2 separate regions of the Homo sapiens genome follow, and region 2 is linked to region 1. Evidence: promoter capture Hi-C in 16 types of primary human blood cells and fetal thymus (Javierre and others, 2016). All regions are on one chromosome and are shown on one strand. Each heading gives the region's core, a stretch centred on a gene start or on the middle of the fragment in contact. The rest is flanking DNA. Distances are from core to core; before and after follow the strand shown. Region 1 holds the start of SLC25A53 (solute carrier family 25 member 53). Region 2 overlaps ATG4A (autophagy related 4A cysteine peptidase).

Region 1 (3,747 bases), core at 482-2,981:
TTGTGGACTGCCTGATGATAAGTTGGGAAGTGAGAGTGGGTAGGTGTGGAGCAAGAATAACAACATCCTGGGTACCGTACATTCTGAAGGAACAGAGGGAATTCCTGTTTTGTTTTAACCTGGGACAGAGGGGATTGGTTTGTTCTCTCCAGGCTGAGGCAGTAATTCCTGACTCTAGGGACTGCTGATATGGAAATTACTACTACCACTCTGGGTGGAGTCAGATGAGTATATTAAAGAGTCTCATTGTACTGTCCTAAAATAAGCAAGATCTTTGCTAATATCCAAGCTTTACAGAACGGTGGGATGAGGTGAAGGCCCTGTACCTTTATCCCCAGTGGTCTTCAGTACTATAGGAAGTAATGGGGCCTGTGTGGCACAGTGGAGGGCAATGAGTGAGCTGGTTATGCCAATTCCTACTATAGTCACCTCCTTGGCTGCCAGCCTTCAAGGGAGAGATCTTTGCCTTAGTGGGTTCTGCCCTTCTGCTTCTGAAGAGAACCTAGTCTTTCTGTATGGGCATTCAGGCAATTCTTGGGGTGGGGAGTTGGGGGAGAGAGAGCACTTGAAAAGAATTTATGGTGGCCTTTTTCTCAGTGATATTTGAGAAATACCAAGACACATCTGAATGTATCTGAGTTTAAGTCTTGGCTCTATTTGTTATTAGCTCTGTGACCGTGGGCAAGTTATTGATTTATATGCAATCTGACTAATCTGAGTTTTCTTAGCTGCTTTAAGCAGACAAAGAGGACAGGAAAGGGTAATACACTTAAGAACCAGCAAAGGGCTATTGTGAGGATGAAGCAATAACAACAAAATGGGTTTAAAGCACTTATCATAGTGCGTGGTCCATAGAACTGCAAACGTTGGATTTTGCTTATTTTAGGACAGTACAAAGAGACTCTTTAATATACTCTTCTGACTCCAGCCAGAGTGGTAGTAATTTCCATATCAGCAGTCCCTAGAATCAGGTATTACAGCCTCAGCCTGGAGAGAACAGGGCAATCCCCTCTATCCCAGGTGAAATGATTATTATCATTTATTATTTATTAGCCAGAGGTCTTAGGTGAGATCAAATTCAATCATTATAATTTATATTTCAATATACTGCTTAACTTCATGATAGGCAATGTTCTAGGTGCTCCTCACATGTGAAATTTTAATATTTTTACTGCAACTCTGGAGGTAAGTACTATTATTATACCAATTCTACAGATGAAAAAGCCAAGGAATAGCATGCTTGAATCACTTGCCCAAGATGCCATGTTTAGATAGTGGTACAGTGGGGATTCGAACGCGGGAGCTCAGGTTTCAAAGTCTGTGCTCTTTACATATGCAGCTAAAGAGTCAGACAAGAACCAAAAGGAGATGGAGAATAGAGGGTAGAAAGGGCACAGGTTCAAGGTGAAAGGTCAGAAACTGCAAATTCGGAGTTTGGGTTGGTCTAGCAGCTTAAAGGCGTCATCATGAACTGTTCACCTAAGTAAGTTAAGCTCCTGTTTGAGAATGACTGATAAGCTTGCAAGCCAACTTACAAACAAACTGGGGAAATGTTCCAATAGATGACTAAGTCTTTTAGGTCTTTTTACCTGTGTTTTTCGGTCTCTATACCAGATTAGTCGCCTGGCTCTCCCAAACAGACCGGCCAACTGACGTAGTCGCGAAACGGTTAATGTCGAGGCGGGGGCGGGGGAGGCGGAAATAAAGAGAGCGGAAGCAAAGAGGATTGTGGGAGCTCCGTTGTGCGTCGCTTAAGTGAGGGCGGCGGATGGGCGAAGGTCCGGTGACTGCGACTGTCGCTGCTTTCTGAGGCCACAGGAAAGGGGCCGTCGGTCGCCGCCATGACAGCGAGCGAGGCGGAGGTTTGTAGCACTTCTTATGGGCTGAGGGCGTAGACACATCCTGCTTCCAGCCTAGCAGGCAAACGGGAACGGAAGTGATAGGGGATCAGAAGTTGCGAGGGGATGAGGAGTAGGGGAAACTGACAAGCGGACGGACCCGGCGGCGAGAATTGATGGCGTAGCTGTAGGATTAAGGGGCGTGTCAACTGTGTTGTGTGTGTTGACACTGAGATGTGTGAATCCCCTCATTATTTTTAGCTGGGGACAGGCGGGGTCTATGGGGGAGGGGGCGGACGGATGAATGGAGGATAAAATCAGGGCGAAAACGTGTTGTCTGCTGGGCACCAGTACATCTGAGTCACATCTCAGCAGGATGATTTTATTGGAAAGATCTAGGTCCCTGGTTTCAGATTCTGCTATTGATGCGTTGATTGATTTCCCTTACCAAAATACCAAGTACCTGCTCTGTGCTGGGTACTGCACTAGAGGCTCCGGATGAGGAAAGGAATTAGGCTTTTTCCTCGACATTTACAGCCTGCCGGTTGCTATCTGCATTTGGAGACAGGCTATTACAATACAAGGAGACAGAGATAGATCCTGTGTTATGAAAATCTATTGGGTGCCACCGAACTCATCTGGGAGTTGAGATCTGGGACGGCTCTTTGATGCGGTGATTTAACATATATTTTGAAGACAAAATAAGCAGGGCAAAAACGAAGTGCAATTTTCCTCCAAGCACCTTCCCTCCCTGTTGAGGTGAACTGGAGAACTGAGTAGCATTTAAGGCCCAAAATTAGTGTATTTCTTTTTTTTTTTCTTTCTTTCTTTCTTTTTTTTTTTTTTGATAAGGAGTCTCTCTACTTCTGTCGCCCAGGCTGGAATGCAGTGGCGTGATCTCCGCTCACTGCAACCTCCGTCTGCCGGGTTCAAGTGATTCTCCTGCCTCAGCCTCCCGGGTTGCTGGGATTAGAGGCACCCACCACCACTCCCGGCTAATTTTTATATTTTTATATTTTTAGTAGAGACGGGGTTTTACCATGTTGGCCAGGTTGGCCTCGAACTCCTGACCTCAAGTGATCCGCCTGCCTCGGCCTCCCAAAGTGCTGGTATTACAGGCATGAGCCACCGCGCCCGGTCCCCACAACTAGTTTATTTCTGGTAAGAGCATTTGCCCATCACAATGGGACTTCCAGGCGCCTCTGGAAGAATCAGTCTTACGTGAGTGCAAAGCCTGCAAGCTCTGGGTAGGACTACGATGGAGGTGCTAGTTACTTGGTTTTCCAGCAAACTCGGTTCACAGCAGGGAATTGTGCACCCACCAGAAATCCTAAGCAATATTTCTCTGAACAAGAAAAGAAGCCTCTTTGTTTACCAGAGAAACAACAGTATAGCAGTCTAAGTCAGTGGCTCTCAAACTTTCCTGTGAATCAGAATCAGATGGAGCGTTTCTTAAAACCAAGATTGCTAGGTCCCATCCACAGAGTTGCCCCTACAGTTGGTCAGGAGTGGACCCCCGAATTTACATTTCTAACTAGTTCCCAGGAGATGCTGATACTCCTGGACATGGGGCCATACTTGGAGAACTATAGGTCTAAACGGAGCTGACAATAAATTGGAAAGAATATCTCCTGGAATCTCTTAGAACCCGGGAGGCAGAGGTTGCAGTGAGCCAAGATTGCGCCACTGCACTCCAGCCTGGGCAACAGAGTGAGACTCTGTCTCAAAAAAAAAAAAAGAATATCTCCCCTAGGGAAGGCTAGGCACACTCCTAAACGTCAGGCATGTCTGAATTCAGACACAGTAGATATGAAATAAAATGGACTTATTTGACACTGCTTAGAAAATCTTTTTATTTTTATATTTGTATAATTTTATTGTATATTTACAAATTGTATACATTTATAGA
Region 2 (3,808 bases), core at 1,159-3,658, 3.9 Mb before region 1:
CAAATGTGTTTTATCCAAGGATGCAAGGCTAGCTCAACATTTGAAAATAAATTAGTGTAATCCACTGCATTAGCAAACTGAAGAAGAAAAATCACAAGATCATATCAATTGATGCAAAAAGTATTTGGCAAAATTCAATAGTTATTCATGATAAAAACACTCAGACAACTAGAAATCAAGAGGGAACGATCTAAACTTCAAAAAAAACTACATTATAGTTGATGCTGAAAGACTGACCTCTTCTTCCCTAAGACTGGGAACAAGACAAGAATTTAGCTCTCACCACTGCTATTCAACATAAAACACAGAGTGGAAAGGAAGAAATATCACTGTCCCTCTCTGCAGATGACAAGATGGTCTACATAGAAAGTCCTAAAAAACAATGAAAACAAAAGAAAAAAAATTAGAAAAATACCTTTTAACCCCCTAGAACTAATCAGTGAATTCAGCAAGGTTTCAATATGCAAAACTATCATACAAAAATCATTTATATTTCTATATACTAGCAATGAATACATGGAAACCAAAATTCAAAATAAAATACCATTAATAGTCACTCCAAAAATGAAATGGTTATGTATAATTCTAACAAAACATACAAGATTTCTATGCTGAAAATTGAACAGTGCTGATAAAATAAATAAAAGAAGATCTAAATAAAGGGAGAGACATATGGTGCTCATGGATTGGAAGACTCAGCATAGTAAAGATGTCAGTTTTCCCCAAACTGATACACAGGTCTAATACAATTCCTATCAATATCTCAGCTAACTTTTTTCAGATATAGGCAAGTTTATTCTAAAATTTATAGGGAAAGTTAAAGGAACAGGCAATATTGAAAACAATAAACTAGGAGGAATCACTCTATCAAATTTTAAGATTTATTATAGAGCTACAGTATTCAACACTGTGTGGTATGGCAGAGGGACACATACGTAGATCAATGAATCAGATTAGAAAACTCAGAAATAGATATACACAAGTACGGCATACTTATATTTTACAACAGTGCAAAAGCAATTCAATGGAGCTGAAGTAACTAGATATCAATAATCCAAAAAAATTAACCTTGACCTAAACTTCACATTTTATGCCAAATATTAACTTAAAATGGATCATGGACTTGAATGTAAAATGTAAAACTATAACATTTTCAGAAGAAAATCTAGGAGAAAATATTTGAGACCTACGACTTGGTGAAGACTTCTTAGATGTAACAACAAAAGCACAATCTATAATAGGGAAAAAAATCAATAAGTTGAATGTCATCAAAATTAAAAGCTCTTTCTCTGTGGAAAATCCTATTAAGATGAAAAGACAAGCCACAGACTGGAAGAGAATATTTGCAAGCTACATATCTGACAAAGAACTGGTATCTAGAATACATAAAGCACTCTGAAAACTCAACAGTAAAACAAACAATACAATACAATTAGAAAATGGGCCAAAGATATAAAGAGATATTTAAATGAAGAAGATATGGGGATGACAAATAAACACATGAAAAGATGTTGAACTTTATTAGCCATCAGATAAATGCAAATTAAATCAGTAATATATCACTACACACTTATCACAATGGCTAAAACTTAAAAAAAAAATAGTGAGAATACCAAATGCTGGAAAGGATGTGGAGATACTGGATCTCTCATACCATTGCTGGTGAGAATACAAAATGGTACAGTCACTTTGGAAAACTAGTTTGTCAGATTCTTTTAAAATTAAACATATATTTACCGTCCCACCTTGTAATTGCTCTCCTGGGCATTTATCTCAGAGAGATGAAAATTTCCATCTACACAAAACACTGTACTCAATGTTAATAAGAGTTCTCTTCGTAATAGCCAAAAACTGGACATTTAAAAATGTCCCTTAATAGATGAATGGTTAAAAAAACTGTGGTACCTCCATGTCGTGTAATATTTCTCAGCAATAAGAGGGAATGAACTATTGATACCAATTTGAATGAGTCTCAAATGTATTATGCTGAGTGAAAAATAGTGGAAAAGGTCACATACTTTATGATTCTAAAAATTAAATCATTTTAATTATATATAAAATTCTTAAAATGACAGTTATAGAAAAGGAGAACAAATTAGTATTTTTCAGGGGTTATCAATGGTGGGGGTAGGTGGTGGGTGTGACTATAAAGAGGTAGCACAGGAGAGATGGAATATTTCTTGATTGCGATAATGGTTAAACAAATCTACACATCATAAAATAACATAGAATTATACACACGTATCATTCCAGTATCAATTTCCTGGTTTTGATATTGTATTATAATTATGTAAAATGCAATGATTGAAGTAACTCAGATGAAGATTATATGGGGCCTTTCTGTACTATCTTTGCAAATTATTGCGAGTCTCTTATTCATAATAAAACCCTTTTAAAAAAAGAAACCACTTATAAAGCAAACAACTTAAAACAAGAGTGTGGAAGCTAAAACTCAGGGAGTAAATATAAAGTGCTTTATTATAACAGCCTGTAACAGTTTGCCAGTTTTGTGAAGGAATCGCTTTTAAATGGGGAAGGTTTGTATAGCCCAGTGACATATAACACCAAGGACATTTAACATGTGGGATCAAAACACGGGATTAAAAAAAATTAGAGCCACAGCACACACCAGGGCCTGTCAGGGGGCGAAGGCCTGGGGGAGGGATAGCATTAGGAGAAATACCTAATGTAAATGACGAGTTGATGGGTGCAGCAAACCCACATGGCACATGTATACCTATGTAACAAACCTGCACGTTGTGCACATGTACCCCAGAACTTTTATATAAAAAAACTTGTATATAAAAAAAAATTAGAGCCACAGATTAAGATGTCTCATCTTAAACCAAGCAACTGGCAACTGTAAAGTGCAATAAGCCACATAAATTACATTTGTAAGCAGTGAAAAATCAATTGCAAAAGGTTTTTGAGCCAGTTATGGAACCTTATTTAGTAAGTGCTGGGAATGGAGAAGTTTCATGGTGGATAACCCAGAACCTGTTCCTGCAACTGTCATGCAGTTAATTGATTTGCGTATACCCTCAAGTTGTTTTTCAGTATAGAATATATTCACTTCCTGTTGTGCTATGGAAAGAATATTTGCATTGGGTAAAATATTTAGTGTAATTAAAAAGGAACAAGTGGGGGGAAATGATCTCTCTCTGCACTGTCCAAGATGATTAATAATGAGTCACACAAAACTATTTACATGTAAAACAATTACAATTAAATGACATTAAAAATTCAGTTCCTAGACACATTGCAAGTCTTTAAGAGCTACATGTGGTTATGGTTACCATACTAGAACAGCGTAGATATAGAAGTTTACCATCATCACAGAAAGTTCTACTGGACAGCACTGCTCTAGAGCATTAAAATCTTGTCATTTCACCAAAATCACAGGTAGAGTTACAACCCAAAGAACTCTGACAGCATTTTGTATTGCAATATTTAGGATTATCATTTACACATAATTCCATTTTCAGCAATATTTAGCAGCATGTTGCAGTGGTTAAGTAGTAGGACTTTGGAGTAGAATTGCCTGGATTTCTATTATAGCTCCAACTAAACTGTGTGACCTTGGGCATGTAACTTCTCTCCTCTGTGCCTGTTTTCTCATTTTAAAAAAGGTAGGAGCTGCAGGATAATAGTACCTACCTCACAGAGCTGATGTGAGGATTGCATAAGATAAGCTCAGTAACTGACAATGTCATCTATAAATGCTAGTTATTATTGGCATTATTCTTCAAGCCTAGAAGATGAACTTAGCTTGTTTTAGTATCTAGAATCCAGGTGATCAGTGGAAAAG

The links. The method cuts DNA at HindIII sites, captures the fragments that hold promoters and counts their contacts. A CHiCAGO score of 5 or more calls a contact.
Region 2: a contact is called between a fragment that was not itself captured here and the fragment with the promoter of SLC25A53 in region 1, in 1 of 17 cell types (total B cells). The highest score is 8.1, in total B cells.

The regions. Positions count from the first base shown.
Region 1 is chrX:104,154,993-104,158,739 of GRCh38, reverse strand. SLC25A53 (solute carrier family 25 member 53) reads left to right here and starts at 1,731. Exons shown (of 2, transcript NM_001012755.5): 1 at 1,731-1,862. It also overlaps a transcript of FAM199X not described here. RefSeq lists an enhancer at 1,658-1,957. The HindIII fragment of the contact is 6,927 bases long and covers 1,521-3,747 here.
Region 2 is chrX:108,096,958-108,100,765 of GRCh38, reverse strand. The region is part of intron 1 of ATG4A (autophagy related 4A cysteine peptidase); the gene reads right to left. Among named protein-coding and RNA genes, the nearest start is that of ATG4A, 7.1 kb to the right of the region's middle. The HindIII fragment of the contact is 8,346 bases long and covers 1-3,808 here.